Regions from separate parts of the Homo sapiens genome. Here region 2 is linked to region 1. Evidence: promoter capture Hi-C in human tissues and cell types (Jung and others, 2019). All regions are on one chromosome and are shown on one strand. The core of a region is centred on a gene start or on the middle of the fragment in contact, and the rest is flanking DNA. Distances in the headings are between cores, read along the strand shown. Region 1 holds the start of TLR6 (toll like receptor 6). Region 2 holds the start of LINC01258 (long intergenic non-protein coding RNA 1258).

The links. Contacts are between HindIII fragments. The study calls those that stand out against the background at their distance.
Region 2: a contact is called between a fragment that was not itself captured here and the fragment with the promoter of TLR6 in region 1, in 1 of the 25 tissues and cell types used here (dorsolateral prefrontal cortex).

Annotation. Positions count from the first base shown.
Region 1 is chr4:38,854,447-38,859,781 of GRCh38, reverse strand. TLR6 (toll like receptor 6) reads left to right here and starts at 2,965. Exons shown (of 2, transcript NM_006068.5): 1 at 2,965-3,021. RefSeq lists an enhancer at 1,317-2,516. The HindIII fragment of the contact is 6,137 bases long and covers 1-4,385 here.
Region 2 is chr4:38,520,444-38,525,778 of GRCh38, reverse strand. It overlaps LINC01258 (long intergenic non-protein coding RNA 1258), which reads left to right and starts at 2,599. Exons shown (of 8, transcript NR_110951.1): 1 at 2,599-2,676. RefSeq lists an enhancer at 1,376-1,425. The HindIII fragment of the contact is 4,596 bases long and covers 160-4,755 here.

The sequences.
Region 1 (5,335 bases), core at 1,716-4,215:
CCAGCCTGAGCGACATGGCAAAACCCTGTCTCTGCAAAAAAATATAAAAATTAGCCATGCATGGTGGTGGATGCCTGTGGTCTCAGATCCTTGGGAGGCTGAGGTGGGAGAATCGCCTGAGTGGGGAAAGTCAAGGCTGCAGTGAGCTGTGATCACGCCACTGCACTCCACCCTGGGCAACAGAGCGAGACCCTGTCTCAAAAAAAAAAAAAAAAAGGCCAATAATCTATTTCTCTTAGTTCTTCTGCTCAAAGGTGAACATTTCTTATGTATCTTTTGAGAAAAAAAGATTCATATGCCTCTATCAACATATGTATGTAGACCCTTGTATTAAGTTTCCTGTGGCTACCATGACAAATCACCACAGACTGTGTGGCTTAAAACAACAAAAATTCATTCTCTCAGAGTTCTGGAGGCTAGAAGTTCAAAATCAAGCTGTTCATAGGGTGATGCTCTCTCCAGCCTCTGGTGGCTCCAGACATCCCTTGCATTGTGACTGCAATACCCCAGTCTCTGCCTCTGTTTGCAAATGCTCTGCTTCTCTGTATCTCTCTTCTCTGTGTGTCTTATGAGGACACAGGGTGTCTTCTAAGGCAGCATAGTATGATGCTTAAGTGCATAGGCACTGGGGCCAAACTGCCTGGGTTCGAATCCCACCCCCACCACTGACCAGCAGTGCAAGCTGGAACGATTACCCAGCTGCGCTAAGTGGAGATGACGTGACAGTACTTATCTCACAGCACCTTAATGAGTTAATACTTGGAAAGTAGTCACAGCAATGCCTGGCAAGAAGATAACCTGTGTAAATGGCTAGATTTTATACAATTGATGTCATACTCTTCTTACAGTTCTGCACCTTAATTTTCTTTCTTTCTTTTCTTTCTTTCTTTCTCTCTTTCTTTCTTTCTTTCTTTCTTTCTTTCTTTCTTTCTTTCTTTCTTTCTTTCTTCCTCTCTCTCTCTCTCTCCCTCTCTCTCTCTCTCTCTCTCCCTCTCTCTCTCTCTCCCTCTCTCTCTCTCTCTCCCTCTCTCTCTCTCTCTTTCTTTCTTTCTTTTTTCTTTTGAGCCAGAGTCTCACTCTGTTGCCCAGGCTGAAGTGCAGTGGCACAATCTCAGCTCTCTGCTACCTCTGCCTCCTGGGTTCCAATGATTCTCCTGCTTCAGCCTCCCGAGTAGCTGGGAGTACAGTTGCCTGCCACCATACCCAGCTAATGTTTGTATTTTTAGTAGAGACAGGGTTTCGCCATGTTAGCCAAGCCGGTCTCGAACTCCTGACCTCTGGTGATCTACCCACCTCGGCCTCCCGAAGTGCTGGGATTACAGGCATGAGACATCGTGCCCAGCCTGCACCTTGATTTTCTTCACTTCATAGTATATCCTGAAATCTTTACCCCTCAGCATACAAAAAAACTATATGATTTGCACCAAACTCCTTACTATTATGACTTCTCTTCTGTGTCAGTCACTATTCCAGCCACTTTAAATTCATTATCTTTCCTAAAAGTACTCCCATTTTGTGGATGAATAAATGGAGGTTAAGGGACTTGTCCCAAGCCTCACAGTAAGTGGCCAAGTGGAGGTTCGGCCCAGTACTGTCTGTTTCTTTGTTTGCTTAACTGTCATTGCCATCTTCGCTATTACTTGATTTTTGTGTTTTTGTCATCCCCTTACAGACGTTTCTGAGTTATGACAGCCTCGACAAGAATAGTCTCCTTGTTTCTGAACATTGGTGTTGTGATGCAATCTCCTAATGAGACATGTCAATGTGCCCAGATCTGCAGTGATAGTTGTCTGTTTTCTTAAGACTTTAGTCCACGGTTACTTGAAATTCCCTCAGAGCCACAGCCAGCCCTTTCCCTTGGCTTGTTTCACAAATCTGGTTTTCCAGGGTCACAGATACCTGCTGCTTTCTGGCTGTCTCCTTTTGCCAGTGGAGCAGAGATCCATCCACTCCTTACTGAGCCTCCCCAGGCCTGAGGAGACTTCCTGTTATGTTTGATGAGTAAGGATGAATCACAAGAAGCCAGCCTTTCTCTTCCTCCTGAAAGCAGAAGTGATTCTTACGGAGATGTCCAACTTTGTCATTAGCCAAATTGTAAGGTCTTAACTTGTTGTTGTTTTTTTTTTAATAAAGATGAGATTGTGCCAGACAGTGAGATAAATTATAGAATGATTGTTTCACTCATGCCTTCTGTCCTTTGCAGAACTCAGTTAAGCAAGAAGTCTGGGGAAAAGGGTTTACTGTCCACCAGAAGTCTCTGTTTAACCAGAGACTTCTGGTAATCAGCCTTTGTTGATGTCATTCTGAAATTCTTCTAAATGGTCTTTAGAAAATTGATTTTTAAATTAGTCTTGCAGGATTTCAGTGTTATTTATTATTCCTAAATTAAAATCTAAACCATTTAATAACACCAAATGTTGATCAGAATGTGGGTATGATTGCTCGTACATATGGCTAAATATGTAGTCATAAATATGTATCAACCAGTAAACTTTCCTTAGAAGTTGATTTTTAAAAAAAAACCCAAATTGTGGAACTATACTTATTTTATTTTAAACTATCTCATCCAGCTAAAATAATGCTCAAAATTGCTTGATAAGGGAAACTGCAATTATTCTTGAAATGTTAAATATGGTGATAATAGAAAACAGGCTGTTTAAAATAACTTTCCACTCAGGTGACAAATGTAATAACCAGGCTGCAAACTCTTACAGAGAAATATTACCTTAGAAAAATATTTTTCTTCACATTGAATTGTTTGTAAGTTGCTTCCTCACACGAATTAGAAAATTGGATTACTGGTTTTGTCTGTAGCCCAGAAAAAACTGCTAACTCACCTCCGGACCTTTGAAAGGTAAAAATATACGTAGGAGTAATTCCAGTGTGGGCCAACAGATGGCACCAATCTGTTTCTAAGGTACCGCTTTACTCAACTTTAAGAACTTGTGTTTGTCAAGCATTTTCAATTGTATTTCCGTTCATTTACAAGTTATTTTCTCTTCTTCTGAAAAAGAGATCTTGGTAAGTAGAAAGACTTCTGTGGCTTTTTCACATTATGGCACAGGTGCTTCAAGTAAGCAAGTTTGCTAACCATTCATTATATAGGAAATAGGTAATGTTTCCTTGAAATTTTTGCAAAATGATTTGAAGTGGTTTTTTTTGTAGATGTTGCAAATGTCCTTTGAATTTCACGAGCAGGATGAAGAGCAGCGTCTTTACAGCTGTCTTGAAAAGATAGAAAACAACTAGCGCTTGTGGTGATAATTAAGGAACAAAACTAATGTTATTTATTTCTTCTGATTTGGCCCAGCGAATTTTCTCTTTTCGTCTTTCTCTAGTTTATTGTTTTCAGTAACATTTAACAGTAATTTTTATATACCACTGATATGGCACCTATTTATTATATGTTTTTACAGCAGACGTGTGTTTGATCTCCCTTGTCGTTTGTCACTGTAACAGTTTGCTGGTCTGTGTCTGTCCCTAATTCATAAGCTTTTTGAAAGCAGGAATTATGTCAGTCCTATTCATATTTATATCCCTGGTGCCTAGTGCGTAGCATGGCACTGGCAGAAAAATAGACTCTGAATAAACATTTATTAAATGGAGGAAGTGGCCGGGACCAAGCCCCTTCACAAGCTTGAATCTGGCACAGTGTAGCAATTGCCTTCCTCCAGGTCCTTCCACCTTCAGTTTGACAAATGAAACAATGTTTTTCTTGCCTATTTGTTAACTTGATTATGTGATCTTTCCTCCACTTATTTCACTTAATTTTTTTTCTGCTCTCTTCTTCCTTGTAGTTTTAATTTTCATAGGTCTTGTCTACCCTTTTTTTCTGAAATGTAGCTTATTTCATCTATTTCCTCACCCTTTTTATTTGATGCATTTAAAAAATCAAGAGCATTTACCTGTTTATTTTTACTTTCTTTAAAAAACTGTGAACTCTCTAATCTTCCACTCTCATCTTCCCATTTTTCCCTCCTTTTTTCCCAATAAATAGAAAAGTTACTATCTTGTTCATTTAGTGTATTCCCTAGGAACTGCCTCAGGGTATGAACGCCTCTGGAGGAATATTGCGTTTTTGTGGCAGGATACCATAAGGACAGCTGACCAGCTTTTCCACCTGGTGACTGATTTTCAGTCCCATGAACCCAGACACCGTGGGTCTGGTTGCCGGGGACCTGTAGGGTAGGTCCTCATCTGTGAATGCCAGTTATCTACTATTATCTGAAAGTTCTCCATCTTTATATTTTAATATTCCAAATAAAACAAGCACGTTTCTTTAAATATAAAATATTTTCACACAGCTATAAAGACAACTCTTAAATTGCCTTACGATAACTTTTTTGGATTATAAAGGACATTCAAAATGAGACATTTTAGGGATATCTGAAAGTATAAGAAAGAAAATTAAATTCATCTATAATTCAGAGATTCAGAGAACCACTATTATTAGTATTTGGTATATTTCATCACATTGTTTGTCCTCTAGCTTTTACGTATATGTCAGGTTTTAATCATATTTTGCAAAATTAGAGTCTTACTACATATATAATTTTTTTTTTTTTTTTTTGAGACGGAGTCTTGCTCTGTCGCCCAGGCTGGAGTGCAGCGGCACGATCTCGGCTCACTGCAAGCTCCGCCTCCCGGGTTCACGCCATTCTCCTGCCTCAGCCTCCCGAGTAGCTGGGACTACAGGCGCCCGCCACCACGCCCGGCTAATTTTTTTGTATTTTTTTTTAGTAGAGACGGGGTTTCACCGTTAGCCAGGATGGTCTCGATCTCCTGACCTCGTGATCCACCCGCCTTGGCCTCCCAAAGTGCTGGGATGAGAGGCGTGAGCCACTGCGCCCGGCCATAATTTTCTATTACTGTATTCATTTAACATTATCATTTTTTCAAAGTACAGTATTTGAGGCTATTATTTAATTATACATAACTGATTTAATCATTTTCTACACTAGACATTCTGATTTTTTCAATATTTCATTATGTCATGAGTATCCTTATAGTCATATCTTCTGTGTGTTATTTTTGACTATTTCTTTAGAAAATTCCTTGTAGTGGAATTGCTAAAATAAAGGAAGGTATATTTTTAAGAAATTTATGTAAATTACCAAATTACCCTTTAGAAAGCTTGTACTAATTTTTCATTCCTGCCTAAGTAGTAAATGAGGGTTCTTATTTTAGTTTCCACCTACCAACCTGGATATTATATTTTTTAATTTTCCCTATTTGATAGGTGAAAAAAAAATCTTGCCTTTTAAAAAATCTTTTAAGAAACAAGAGTCCTCCTTTGACCCCCTTCCTCTTTTTATGCTTAAATATCTTATAGTAA
Region 2 (5,335 bases), core at 1,208-3,707, 330 kb after region 1:
AGTCAAGTATAATTGTCTTCCTTTCAGATAAGAAAACTGAGGCTTAGAGACATTAAGCAATTTGCTTAAAGTCACCTAATTTTCAGGGGTGTCTTGGGACCAGTACCATTCAGATTATTCTCCTAAACCTACTCCTGTATTTTCCATTTTCCAGAAGGCTTGGTGCTTAGGAAGCCAATTCTGAGGCTTTTTAAGGTCCTGAGTTGCCTTTGAAATGATCAAAGAGACAGTTAGACTCAATATGGTTAAGTTATAAATGCGTTTTCTGAGTTTTGATTCTTTGCAAATTAGCCATCCATGGAGGGCACGTGACATAACGGGAGCAGGTCTTGGCACAAAGGCAGGAACTGCAGCAGGGAGGTGGGTGGGCAGGGAGCGAGGGAGATGAGATGCGGGGCTCCTCTGAGCATGGGGAGTGACCTGAGGCTCTGCTCGGGCTGCAGAGGCCAGGCTGGGGAAGGAGGCCCGGTGGCCTGAGGCATAGTGGTCAAAGGACAGTGCATACTCAGGCAAAGTTAAGACCAGCATCGGCACCAATTGGCATTAGTGAGTGTAATTCAGCCATTGGGAACCAGCCAGGATACTAATCTGTGGCCCCAAGCTCAGCAGCCAGTGCAGCCAGGTGAGCTGTACAGCCCAGTGGGAGGAGAAGCTCACCCTCCTTCAGAGGAGATAGGCACCAAGGCGGGGAGAGACCATCCTAGAAGGAGGAAGAGAGATTGGGACATGGCTCCGGATTATTGAGCAGGCTGTGATGTGGGGGATGAGGACACAAGAAAAGAACCAACATTCACTGATCACCTACTCTGTGCCAAATGATTTTACATGCATCATCTCCAGTTCTTTCAACAGTCCTGTGAGGGGGTATTAGTGTCCCCACTTTACAGGTAAGGTCACAATTTGCCAGCGGTCACAGAGTAATCAGAGGCCATAGCAGAGGCAGAATCTGAGCACAAACCTTCCTGACTCTTTGCCCCCAACACAGGGTGGGCAGGAGTTCCCCAAGGGGCTCCAGGACTCCCAGGATGCACACAGTCCAACTCTGGTTGACTTTGTGCCTAAACTCTTCTTTTTTTTTTTTGAGACAGAGTTGACCTGTCACCCAGGCTGGAGTGCAGTGGCACGATCTTGGCTTACTGCAACCACCGCCTCCTGGAGTCAAGCGATTCTCCTGCCTCAGCCTTTTGAGTAGCTGGGATTACAGGCACCCGCCACCACGCCCAGCTAATTTTTGAATTTTTAGTAAGGTGAGGTATCACCATGTTGGCCAGGCTGGTCTTGAACTCCTGACCTCAAGTGATCTGCCAGCCTTGGCCTCCCAAAGTGCTGGAATTATAAGTGTAAGCCAGTGCGCCTGGCCTGTGCCTGAATTCTGAAGTCCCACCTACCATGGTGTATCCCAGGCCACTGATCTATTGCCCCACCTAGAAAAGGAGACAAGTCTGGACCCAGCCAAGCGGGTGAAACTGACAGAGGAGCTGGCGCAGGGAAAGGAAGAAGGGCTGTAGAGAGTATGTGGCAACTTGCAATTAGGTAGAAGAGTCAGTTACTCAGAATACCACATGCCGCAACCATGCCGAAATGAGTTTACTGTAATTCCAGATAAAAACAAAACTGTCGGAGCAGAGACTTAGAGACTCGAGGCAGGGTTGGCTTATTTTTTTTTCTATGGTTTCGATATAATTCAGCACTTTCACTTTGTGAAGATAGACCTGACCTTTATGTGGTCTGGAGAATGCTGACTCAACATCAGGGTAACCAATGGTGCACTCATGACCCGAAACAAGACTGGTGGTTGTCAGGGTTCTTAAAGCTCCACACTTGGGCTCTCCACGATCTCGGAAAACCGTGCCTTTATCAGAAATGACAGCCCTTGTTCAAACAGAGATCTGGATAGGTGCGCATTAATTTCAAACATTTTTTTAAAAAGATATTTTCCTGACTTTGTAAGAGGTAGAGTAGGATGCTGATTTAGCGTAGGTCTTTTTCCCATTTCCTACAGTAGTACAGATGGTGACTGAAGGGCAGATGAAAAAAGAAAAGGGGAAGGAAGGGAGGAGAAAAGAGGAAGAGGGTATGGGGGAAGAGGGATGGCCGGCAAAGGAGGCCCACTTTTACTTCCTTGGAAATATTTCGTTCATTTTGAAAACTCAAACTCAAGTTTCTCCTGGAAAAGAAAAAGGCTTGGGATCTCCCAATTGCCTATTGGTATGATTTTTATCTAGCTCCACTTTTTGATTCTTTAGGAATCAAACCGTGAACTTAATTTTTCCTCCTATTTGAAAAGCATAGGCAAAAGTCCTGCCCTCTTTTCCAAAACAAAATGCAGCATCCACCCCCGACCCCCACCACACCTCAAAGCCCCAAAGTGACATTTTCAACAGACTTATCATAAATCAAATCTGCTGTGCACACCAGTAAATAGTGCCAGTAAGCCAGGTGAACCAAATCAGATTTTTCAGCCTTGACTTCCAGTGGTGAGAACAAGGATGTGCTGACCTAGGAAAAATGACAAGTCATGGGCGCCCTGCACCGGCCCTTTCAGAAGACGTAGAACACTGCAGGGGGTGGAGTCTGGAATAAGGAGAATCTGGAATCAGTGATGACCTAGTTGTCTTGAGGGCCAGGCTGAGGAGAAGCCTGATGGGTTACGCTTCAGAATTTCATGTGCTCATGGTAGGTCCTCTGCATTTTCCCTGTCAGAGTGGATGTTGAACTCTGGTGAGGATGAAAGGGAAGGTCCCAGAAATGACCTATGCTCTTGCTGGGGAGATCCAACATCTGGCTCAAGCCTTAAGCAACAGCCCCCTTGTCCCAGTCTTGATTTTGGACTCTCCATGAAGGCAACCTATCACAGACAGCCTAGAGAAAGCATACCACAGCTCATAAAATGTTGCTAGCATTCTGCCTATTGTAAAATTATCTGTAGGAGCCAACCTGTGTTCTGGAAAGTTATGGGTATAAGACGACGTGTTATAGGTGATTTTGATTTTCTTAATTTGTTTAACAAGCTTGAATTTGAACCCCAACCATTGGATCAAAAATGTCACATTTCTGGCCAGATGTGTTGGCTCACTCCTATAATCCCAACATTTTGAAAGGCCAAGGTGGGAAGATTGCTAGAGGCCAGGAGTTCAAGACCAGCTTGGGCAACATAACAAGTCCCCGTCTCTATAAAAAAAAAAAAAAAGTCACATTTCTCAATTAACTGTGGGTCTGAGCCTTTGCTTTTAAGGGTTGAAAAATCTTATCACAATTACATTTTAGGGAAACCATTCTCTTTCATAAGGTTATAATAACACGCTCCTTGGGACTTATGTGGTGCTTAAAAAATGAGAGAGGAGGCCCTTTTTTTTTTTTTTTTTGAGACAGAATCTCGCCTGTCGCCCAGGCTGGAGTGCAGTGGTGCAATATCAGCTCACTGCAAGCTCCGCCTCCCAGATTCATGCCATTCTCCTGCCTCAGCCTCCCAAGTAGCTGGTACTACAGGTTCCTGCCACCACTCCTGGCTAATTTTTTGTATTTTTAGTAGAGATGGGGTTTCACCGTGTTAGCCAGGATGGTCTCAATCTCCTGACCTCGTGATCTGCCCACCTCAGCCTCCCAAAGTGCTGGGATTACAGGCGTGAGCCACCGTGTCCGGCTGGCCCCTTCTCCATCACTTGTGGTCATTATCCTTCTTGGTGCCTTTGGGACACCGAAATCCAGGGGATCTCCTTTCCTGGTGGCCTGATTTACTATCTGCAAGCTTTGTCACAGACATTCTTCCAGGGTTTGAGGCTGCAGCTTGCAGAATGTAACCATGATAACACCCCAATGTCTGGGAAGCCCTGTGTAAGTGGGGCAAGGATTTCAAAGAAACTCCAAGCCTCCACCCCGCTTCATAACACTGAGAAATCAGCTTACATGGTTTAGGTCTTTGCCCCTTCCAACTCAAAGCACCAGCTCCTATATCCTTCTGCTCTGGTGCAAATGAGTTGAACCCCTCCTCTTTGGCCCCTTTATTAGCGTGCAAAGACTGCCGTAACAAAATGCCACGAACCAGGTGGCTTAAACAACAGAAATTTATCATCTCCCAGTTCTGGTGTCTGGAAGACCAGATCAAAATGTTGTCAGAGTCCTTCTGCAGGTTGTGAAGGAAAGATTTGTTCTAGGCCTCTCCCTTTGGCCTTGTAGATGCCCATCTTCTCTCTGTGTCTTCCCTCTGTGCATAGCTCTTTTTTATAAGGACACTAGTCATAATGGATTAGGGCTCACTCTAATGACCCCACTTTCACTTGATTGCCTCTGTAAAGACCTCACCTCCAAATAAAGTCATACTGAGGTCCTAGGTGTTAGGACTTGGACATATGCATTTTGGGGGTAAATAATTCAACCCATAACAGGCCCTAAACATAAGATGTGGGGAGGGGAAAGTGAGAGCTCAAACTTTTTTTTTTTTTTTTAATAAACTTTACTTTTTAGAACAGTGATAGATTCACAGGAAAATTGAGAAGATAGTATAGAGTTCCCGTGTACAGTACACTCTGTCACCCAGTTTACCCCATTGCTAATATCACCTTCCTTATGGTGGGTTTGTTATGACAAATAAACCAGTATTGATACATTATTGCGAACCAAAGTCCATAGTTTGCTCACATTTCCTTAGTTTCTATTTAATGTCCTTTTTCTCCCTCTGGATCTCATCCAGGTTCCATGTGGCACTTATTTGCCGTGTCTCCTTAGGCTCCTGGTTGGCTGTGACTGTTTCTCAGACTTTTTGGTGACTTTGACAGTTTTGAGGAGTACTGATCAAGCATTTTGTAGGATACCCCCCTACTGGAATTTATCTGATGGTTTTCTCATGATTAGACTGAAGTTATGGGTTTTTGGAAGGAAAATCACAGTGATAAAGTACCATTCCTGTTACTGTGTATTGAGGGTCTGTGTTCTCAACGTAATTCATCACTGTTGATATTGGCTTTGATAACCGTATTAGTCCGTTTTCATGCTGCTAATAAAGACATACCCGAGACTGGGCAATTTACAAAAGAAAGAGCTTTAATGAACTCACAGTTCCATGTGGCTGGGGAGGCCTCACAATCATGGCGGTAGGTGAAAGGCACGTCTCACAGGTTGGCAGACAAGAGAAGAGAGCGTGTGCAGGGAAACTCCCCTTTTTAAAACCATCAGATCTCATGAAACTTATTCACTATCACGAGGATGGCATGGGAAAGACCTGCTCCCATGATTTAATTACTTCCCACCAGGTAGGTCCCTCCCACAACACATAGGAATTCAAGATGACATTTGGGTAAGGAAACAGCAAAACCATATCAATCACCCTGCTGAAGTA